2 separate regions of the Homo sapiens genome follow, and region 1 is linked to region 2. Evidence: promoter capture Hi-C in 16 types of primary human blood cells and fetal thymus (Javierre and others, 2016). All regions are on one chromosome and are shown on one strand. Each heading gives the region's core, a stretch centred on a gene start or on the middle of the fragment in contact. The rest is flanking DNA. Distances are from core to core; before and after follow the strand shown. Region 1 overlaps TTC21B (tetratricopeptide repeat domain 21B). Region 2 holds the start of SCN1A-AS1 (SCN1A and SCN9A antisense RNA 1).

Region 1 (4,877 bases), core at 25-2,524, 130 kb after region 2:
ATAAAACAGAGCTGTCGGACGGGCGTGGTGGCTCACGCCTGTAATCTCAGCACTTTGGGAGGCCCAGGCGGGTGGATCACTTGAAGTCAAGAGTTCAAGACCAGCCTGGCCAACATGGGGAGCCCCATCTCTACTTAAAAATACAAAAATTAGCCAGGTGCGGTGGGGTGTGCCTATAGTCCCAGATCAGGAGGCTGAGGCAGGAGAATCGCTTAAACCTAGGGGGCAGAGATTGCAGTGAGCAGAGATTGCGCCACTGCACTCCAGCCTGAGTGACAGAATCTCCAAAACAAAACAAAACAAACAAACCAGAGCTGTCTAGATACCCTTAGATTTCAATCCTGTCACTTAGTCACCTGTATTTCTCACTGCTACTGAACAAGCTGTAGAGTCCAGGTAGGTAGGTATGGGGTGGCCCAAACTGCTTTCTGGTGAATCAGGTGTATCCTAGTGATGGTGGGAAAGTGTGGTTTCTGTCTTTGATGAGGTTAGCAACCAAGCCTTAGACATAATCGTAGGAAAAATGGTAGACAGCACAGGCCCATTTTTATTCAGAAGTTAGTAGGTCCTGATAGTAGTTTTGTCTTGTATATGGAAATAATATAACTTTGGAAAAAGCTTAAAGACAACGATTTTCATTGAAAAATAGTTTATTTATTCTTAACTGACAATTTATTTGTCGCAGAACTCAAAGCCGAGTAAGATAACATTTGATGATATGTTGAAGAATTAAATTTGTCATTACTTTGTAATGCTGTAATAAAATACTGGATATTTTAAAAAGAAGATTTTTTTTTTTAAAGAAACCTATGGTCTGGCAATGGAAGCCTCTTGTCTTTTTTTTTTTTTTTTTAGTTCCTGTTTATTGTCTGCCTTTCTGTTTTCTAAAACGTTCAAGAAAATGTGGGCAAAGGAAAAAAGGTGAAAGCAGCCTCATTTCGGTGCTGTTAACAAAAACTTAGGAAAAATAATTTAAATTATTAGAAAACATTGAATTATTTCAGTAATTTTATGATCATTCAGTTCTGCAATCCTTAGCATTGAGTTCTAGCCATTAATAGTATTTTAAGAAACTTGGAAGAAAAAAGTCACATTGCCTGAATTTTACATTATTCTAGATGTTAGATTATTATCTGCTTCTTAGAGTATTTCAGAGCACCAGAATTCCTTTATAACATTTTTTCATTATTTCCATTTAGACTTTGATTAATTACTATTGTCAAGAGAGATATTTCCATCATGTATTACTGGTTGCCAGTGAAGGAATTAAGAGGTATGGAAGTGATCCAGTCTTCAGGTTTTATCATGCCTATGGCACATTAATGGAAGGTACGTGTTAATCATTAAACATGTTCCATCAGTTTTAAATTCTTGCTTTGCACTAAGAACAGTTTTTCATATCATAATCTTGATTTTCAGGTAAAACTCAAGAAGCTCTTCGAGAATTTGAGGCTATTAAAAATAAACAAGATGTATCACTTTGTTCTCTACTTGCACTGATATATGCCCATAAAATGAGTCCTAATCCAGGTATGATATTTAAATGCAATGCTTAGGACATTTTTTCCTATTCAGTTTATTTTTATTTTTCTCAGTTACCAAGTCATTCAGTCTGATCACACTATATTATGTATTTTCTGTAGGTACAATTTATACATATGTTTATCTTCCTGACAAGGGTGTAAATTCATCAGGCACAAGAAATGTGTCTTATACTATTTTCGTGTTCCTTATATCCTCTGGCAGAGGTTTCATTAGTACATAGGGATTTTTTTAGATAAAAGGGAATGTATATTAGTAATTGTTACACAAAAAAAGGACAGCCAAAGAAACAGGTACCGTATGTACATAAATTGCTCTGCAGCAGCCAAGTTTACAACTTTTGTGCAAATATACAGCCAATGCAGTTTATTTCTGTATATTAAGCTTATTGAGAGCCTTAAAACCCTTTATGAGGGCTAGCTCTTGGGAGATATTCAGCAAATTTTTATGCAGTAGTAGGTTGACTAGATTCTGACTAGATTATAGAAGGAAATTTATACATAAACCAGCAATTAAAGTTGTGTAAACTGCCAGGCACAGTGGCTCAAGCCAGTAATCCCTGCAACTTGAGAGACTGAGGTGAAGGATTACTTGAGCCCAGGAGTTCGAGGCCAGCCTGGGCAACATAGTTAGACCTCCATCTCTAAAAAAAAACAGAAAATAAAAAATAAAGTTATGTGAACTGTCTTAATGTATAGTTAATGGCGAAGGCAGAAGAGTATCCAAATTGTATGTAATAAAGAAGAAGTAGTGTTATATTCTTCCATAAATATATATCCAGTAACAGCTAATAGGATTGTAAATATAGATTGTGTTTCAAAAAATTACATAATAAACAAAGGTCACAGACTGGTTCCTTGAATATTAGACGAGACTTTTTTCTAAAGCCAAGTATGACATACCTCCTTCATACATATGCAAATCAATACAAAGTTATTTAAAACATGTAAATATGTGCTTAATTTCTTCAAGAAACTGTGCCTAATACAGTTACAAGCTACAAAAGAATTCTAATAAGTGGTTCATGTCATCAAGTTGGTAATCTAGTGGAGAAAACAAAATGTAAAAAACACAAAGATTAAATTCCAATGTTTCTATTAAATAATACAAAATGAAACATGAGTTTATAATTAATTGAAGTTGGTATGCACTATTCAGCTGTAAGAGTAGGCTGAGAAGGCTTTTGAAATTTTGGAACTTAATCTGATCTTTGAAGGACTGGTAGAATTTGAATATGAAGAGTATTGGCCAGAGAGGAGAAATGGATGGGCAAATACATGGAAGTGGTTCAGGATTAGGCTCTTCTGTGGATCCCCTTTCTCCGTACTCCAGTGGGAGTGTGTTTAGCTAGAGCAGAAAATTTTCATGGGAGAGCTGTAGTTAGTATAGATTGAAGAAATTAGTACAAAATAATTTATTATTAGAATCAAGTTTTTATTTAATTGGTTATTCTTACCAGTGTTGATTCTGTTGGACACTGTGATTTGCAGGACACTGAAATGACAGAATCAGAAATACTGTTCAGAGGAACCTGAGTGCTAACTCTGCTTTGCACCAAGGATGATGCTGAATGGACTTGAGCTCTAGTAGGGGCCCAGATGTCTGTAAATACTGCCTAGGAAAGTCCTAGATTGTTAGTATACATTCCTTCCAGGATGCTGATGTAAATAAACCCTGCTTATAAAAAGGCTGCGATCTTTCAACAACTTTGTGCAGACGGTGTTAGAGCTGATTGATACCTCATTAGGGACGTGATGGAAATCTGAGTAGGAAAGATTTCCTGTACAATGCCTGCTTCTGCCTGGTGGTTGTTTTTTTTGTTTGTTTGTTTTCTTATTTCTGTTTCTGTATCATGGCTGTTTAATGAACACTTCTGAAGGGGTTGTAGGGGTGGGGAGTGGGGAGAGGAGAAAAGGGTCTTCTTGCTAAGCAATCTGTAGACTTACAGAAACAGTTTTGTTTCCTTCACTCATTAGATTGTACCTTGTTAATTTCACATTTAAATTTGTATCATTAGAGTTGAAAGGAAGAGTCACATACCTTTCTCTTGGTAGCCATTCCAGAAAGAGAACTGTTGGAATCACAGGCCGCAACTTACATTTCTTCTTCCTCATTGCATGGCTGATTCTGATTCTGATTCCATCCAGGGTTTGGGTGTAATTGACTTCTGTGTCCTAAGCAGATACTAATATATATATATATATATATATATGGGGGAGGGGAGAGAGAGAGAGAGAGTGTATAGACTTAATGTAAGTGAATAGAGTTATCTATTTAAGGGAGCAGTCAGTATTAAACTATAACAGCAATTATGCCATCTTTTTACTGACCCATAACAGTAGCTGGCATGTTTATATATTTTAGAATTGTATTTAAGAATTATTAATACGTTGAGTACCAGTACTGGACCTGTTCCTAATAATTGTGGTTAGAACCATTATACATTTTTATAAGTCTTATTATTAAAAAATATTAGTATATACAGCCTTTCTATTTTGGGAATGATGTAAACTCTATAGCTATATTGTGCATTACAGTGATCCTTAACCATATACCTCCTCTGTTGCCCAGGCTGGAGTGCAGTGGTGCAATCTAGGCTCACTGCAACCTCTGCCTCCTGGGTTCAAGCAATTCTCCCTGCCTCAGCCTCCCAAGTAGTTGGGATTACAGGCACCCACCACCACGCCCATCTATTTTTGTTTTTTATTTTTAGATGGAGTTTCGCCATGTTGGCCAGGCTGGTCTCGAACTCTTGACCTCAGGTGATCCACCCACCTCGGCCTCCCAAAGTGCTGGGATCACAGGTGTAAGCCACCATGTCTGGCCATATACAGCTTTTTTACCAAGTTTGAGGAACTGAATTTGAAATTTTATTTAATTCTAATTAATTTACTTTTTAAACTTAAAAATGATACTTGATTCAGTTATTAGAAAACTTATTTAGGAGTAACTTGAGTCTAAAAATCTGCTTTTCAGCCATAAGTTTTATGAAAACTACAAATCAAGTATTTTTAAATAAAATTTAACTTTTTTTTTTATTTTTGAGTCGGGGTCTTGCTCTATCACCCAGGCTGGAGTGCAGTGGCGCGATCTCTGCTCACTGCAAGCTCCGCCTCTCGAGTTCACGCCATTCTCCTGCCTCAGCCTCCCCAGCAGCTGGGACTACAGGTGCACGCTATCACGCCCGGCTAATTTTTTTTTTTTTTTTTTTTGTATCTTTAGTAGAGACAGGGTTTCACCGTGCTAGCCAGGATGGTCTCGATCTCCTGACCTCGTGATCCGCCCGCCTTGGCCTCCCAAAGTGCTGCGATTGCAGGCGTGAGCCACTGCGCCCA
Region 2 (4,963 bases), core at 1,069-3,568:
TACTTACAATGACAGTCATTACTATATTCTTGATATAAACTAATGACATTTGTTCAAAGGAATTCCCTTAAATTATTCTGACTATGATCGTCTAGAAGAGATCCTAAATTTCACATGATTTATTATGTGAACTATCCATGGTCTTACTCTTTAATGACAATCTTCTCTGTAAGGAAAAAAATGAAATTAATCATCCTAATGATACTGATGTGTTTCATGAGAAAACTACAGGCAGAGCCTAATAAACTATGGCAGATCTGAATCTCAGGCAAAAACTATGTACTGTATTTCTATGTATTGTATGTAGATTGAATGAATTTTTTGCCTGAGATCTGAATCTCAGGCAAAAACTATGTATTGTATTTCTATGTATTGTATGTAGATTGAATGAATTTTTTACTTCTTAGTTTATTATTAGGGTGTCTTGAAAAACACCCCTGGAGTATACAAATGTAGATACAGACATATGTTAGATATCTGACCTTATTTTAACTGCAGTTTGCATAAGGCATGAAAAACTAAGGGTAGATAATGAAGTTATTTTTAAATGTAAAAGTTTTAAACATATGGCTGAAATATGTTGTTTTAGTTAACCCCAACCTACTAAAAATTGGCTTATTGAGAAATCAAATGAAATATTTTTGTAATTATAATTACACCAAATCAAATTATTTCTAGAAAAGAAATTTATAAAACAATACTTTCTAGGTTTGGGATTTCTATGTAAAAACCAATTTCTTTCTTGGCTGCTAAAAAATAGTTATGTGAGATCACAACAGTAAGAATAACATTTTACCTAGTTATTTTTATTATTATTGGCAGTAACATTCTTTTGTAAAGTAGGTGGCAAGAACACTACAAAACGAACTGAAACACTTCACAAATTGTCGTGCCCAGATGGTTTATGTCCCCAGAATAGTAATAGCTCTTTACAAGGAGATGGCAAGCATTTTGGCAGAAGTCTTTTTGGTTTCTCTTCAGTATGGATATTAAACTACTTTATAGACAGAATTGAAGATATATAATTTTTCTCCACATCAGATTATATATTATAAGGTGGTGAAGATATATAAATGTTGCACAACTATATTGAACTTTGGAGTTACAGATAAATTATATAAAGTCATCTGCTCAGTTAGTAACTAGAAATAATCCAGTTTAGCAATACATAAAACATAACGGAAGTAAAACATAAATTGACGGTGGAGGTATAGTTCAGCAGGATTAAAACCTGCATCATATGATTCTAAACTTGAATATTACAATCATCTTTTTAAATTTTGGAGTCTCCCATTTTTCAAAATTTTGAAGTCTCCATTTTTGCCAGAATGCTTTATTTACTGTATTTGTTTTGGGTCTGTCCAAGTAATATAAATTCCTTGGAGAGACCTAGATCAATTAGAGTAGATAAATACTATTTTAACACAGCTACTTATATTTTCATATATTTTATTTAGCTTTAAAAGAATATTTCATAACTATTAGGACCTGGCAGACACTGGTTTGGGAGTTAGAAAATAAAAGTTCTGATTTAAGTCCCACCATTAATAAGCTGCGTAACCTGGGACAAATGACATATTTATTTTGAAAGTAGGAAGCACATAAGTTCTAAACAAAGAAATTGCCCATTTTTCTTTGATTCAGTTTGTTTTCTATTAAATGAGAGGAATAGACTAATCTCTGTTTTTTAAATCTTTGCCATTTATTGGTTTTGATTTACTTATCTTTGTCTAATTCTCTTAAAATAACTTACTCAACCTTTCAGAAGTCCAGAGGTCAAGGTAAACTAGGTCTTGTCTGCCTGAAAGCCTGTATTATAGACTAACACTGTTCCACATCAACAACAAAATACTATCACATTAAGTACTATATATATTCTTGTCTGTGAATAAACCATAAGAGCTGCACTTTATATTCAGTTCACTAATCAATTGGTTAGTAATTTTTTTCCCTGTAAATCACTTCTAGGGTCAGATAAGGCAAAAAAATAATAGCAATTATTCTAATAGATCATAACAATAGCATTGGAAACTGGGAGGAGAAAATGAGAGAATTGTCTCACCAGGTTGTAGGGAGAGACGGGGGAGTGAGGAGGGGGAATTTCTTTTAGGCTTTAAAAACAACATAGAATTTAAGGACATTATTGAACCAAAAAATCTCAAGACATTACCTTAGTTATGGTATTTCTTGCATAAATACACAATGGCATCAGAGTGTGAAGTTGTGGATGCTGGGTGTCTCTCGGGGATGGGAAACACTAAATTTCATTCATCTTTCTCAGGTTCTGAACAAAGAAAAAATATTCAGAGGACTAAGACAGATATCACCTTTTTATCTCACAGAAGTTTGTGGAGAGTATAGCTTTGTGTGAAAGCCCAAAAGCCCGTTAACCAAACAGATCTAACCACAGAGGCCCAAGCAGTCACACAGAGCTGCCCTCCAAAGGAAGAAACTACATAATGATTTACTTATAAAAGGCCAGTTTCTTCGGGTACAAAGCATTTATAAGGTTGCCTTTACAGTTAAGACTTCTGTGTGAAATGCCACAGGGAAAATGAAATACTTCATTGTGAGCTATCGTACATATTTGTTTGACTGGAGAAAAGCAGATGCCCAAGGGAGTTTAACTGTAAGGCTTCATGGGTTAGGATTACTTTAAATAAAGCTCCTCCATCTGCACTTTGAGGGTCACCAAAGCCATATGGTTTACCACTCCCAGTCACCTCAAGTATAAACATCTTTTGGCTGTGATAAATGCCTCCTCAAGTCCAGAACGTAATACATGTGTCCTCTTCTACGGGAAACAGAGATATATAATGCCCAGAAGCAAAAACCTCATCTAGTACTAGAACATTTATGATAAGTAATGAATTAGTAAAGTCTTAGAAATGACACTGAATATTATCAGTATTAACTTTCTGATCTTGTAAAGTCTCCCGAGAAGGTAATCTGTTAATTATAATGCTACAGATTTACCTCCCTCTTTTTCTTTCAGTTAGATATTACCAGATGATATTATATCTTTATTTATTATTTGTATATTCTAACAAATTTTTCCTTATAATTCTTTTGTCCACGTTATTTGATATTGGTCATGTTATTGCTATTACTTTACTATTTCTTTCCACTCAAAATTTCCACTTCATTTTCTTACAATCTTTTTTTTCCCCCATGATCTCTCACTTCCATTTCATGTTCTTTTGGATTATTTTTTTCCTGTCTTCTTTAGGATTGCTTATCTAATTGAATTCCACTTTTAATGTATTTTTCTTGTCTTCCAAAGAATCATTCTTCTTCCAGTTTTCTATTGCCCACTACTCTACTTATTTCCAATATTTTTTAAAATTCCTTCAGATTTGAAGTTTGCTAACATGCACTTTGTTACTTTTTCTTCCTAGCTATGGTTTCTTAGTTCTCTTCTTAATTTTATTTTGTCCAAATGCATAACCATAATCATCTTGAAAAGGCCTCTCTCTTTGAAGTCTTCTCTTGTTAGGAAAGTTTCATTGTCTTACCTCTTTTGAAAGGAGCAAGGTCTCCTCTATGTAACCAAATATTTAAATGCTGGTTTTTATGAAAAGAGAAAGCTGTAAGCCAAAACTGCAGATTCTATGAGGTTACTACCCCGTATCTAGTGACATGTATTTTCATAAATTAGGACAATTAAGTCTTCTGTTATAAATTTTTAGAATAAAGAGGTGAAATCTCCTTTGTAAGTGTAAATGGAAAATTCATGATTTATTTCTGTATTTTAATAGAATAAGTACAGATTTCAAATGTAATTTAGAACAATTTTTCATATTACTAAAAAATATTAATATTGAATGACATCTGACAGTTTTTTAGGTATTTCATAATTAACCTTATGAGATTTTTAATGAGTTTTATTCTTATAATTAATATAACATAATTTATTTTTAGGTAGCATTTGAATAGAAGATCTACTTAGAGTTAAAAAAATACTTTTTCTAGTATCAGTATGATTTCATTATAATATGGGTTATATTGCTTACATATGAATATAATTCCTGTATCTAACTAATTTATAATTATATATAATACGTTTGAACTGATCATATTTGTCAGTGTAGAATTCATGTCTTCTACTTTCTTGGTTGTTTATTTCTCCAGTAAATGATAGCTAGTGACCAGGGAGATTTTCTTTAGAGAGCTTTTCTCAAATGCAGTATTTCTGGAGAATAGGAAGGCTTTTAGTAACTGTTTCTGTCCATTCACACAACTTCATGGACAATAACATCAAGTGTGGCACTCTGAAAGACGGTGATTGTCGTAATGATCACATATGTTAAAATATACCTATATATGATATCTAAACATATACATATTAAGGAAAGTGCTAAAACAGTAAAATGAAAAGGATGAAACCGAATTGATGGAAAAAGACATACTAGATAAGTGCAAATAAGTAGAAATTAAAGTCATTATATGCTATGAGACAAAGTTGTCTTTAAAGGGAAGAAACTACAGTAAGATAAACAAGGGCCATTTAAGGAAGTACAGGGTTCAATTCACTCCAAAGATCTGATCATAAGTGTTATCTACACATCAAACAATACCGCATTGGAATTCATAGAACAAAAATGACAGAAACCACAATAAATAAAAACACATTAAATAGACATTAATTTGCCTCTCCCAACTTGGAACAGTCAAGTAGAAAAAAAATATGTACAGACATAGAAGGTCTACATAAGATAAGAAATAAGATCAATATAATTGAGGCATAATGAACTCTACTGCTTTAAAATAAAGAATAAGTTTCTTTTTAATGTTCTTAGAAAAGTCATTTTAAAAACAACCTCTATTAGGATAAAAATAAATCACAATAAATTCCAAGAAACAGAAATGGTACGAACTACATTATCAGAGCATAGGGTAATAAAACTAAACATAAATTTAAAACTTAGAAGGAAAATCTATCATTTGAAAAATTTAAACACTT

The links. The method cuts DNA at HindIII sites, captures the fragments that hold promoters and counts their contacts. A CHiCAGO score of 5 or more calls a contact.
Region 1: a contact is called between a fragment that was not itself captured here and the fragment with the promoter of SCN1A-AS1 in region 2, in 1 of 17 cell types (monocytes). The highest score is 5.4, in monocytes.

What each region holds. Positions count from the first base shown.
Region 1 is chr2:165,946,047-165,950,923 of GRCh38, reverse strand. TTC21B (tetratricopeptide repeat domain 21B) reads left to right here. Exons shown (of 29, transcript NM_024753.5): 2 at 1,200-1,329; 3 at 1,420-1,530. It overlaps TTC21B-AS1 (TTC21B antisense RNA 1), which reads right to left. Exons shown (of 4, transcript NR_038984.1): 2 at 3,583-3,727; 3 at 2,999-3,036; 4 at 2,603-2,889. Among named protein-coding and RNA genes, the nearest start is that of TTC21B, 5.3 kb to the left of the region's middle. The HindIII fragment of the contact is 1,308 bases long and covers 621-1,928 here.
Region 2 is chr2:166,078,886-166,083,848 of GRCh38, reverse strand. It overlaps SCN1A-AS1 (SCN1A and SCN9A antisense RNA 1), which reads right to left and starts at 2,318. Exons shown (of 12, transcript NR_110260.1): 1 at 2,171-2,318. All of the region lies in intron 2 of SCN1A (sodium voltage-gated channel alpha subunit 1), which reads left to right. The HindIII fragment of the contact is 13,795 bases long and covers 1-4,963 here.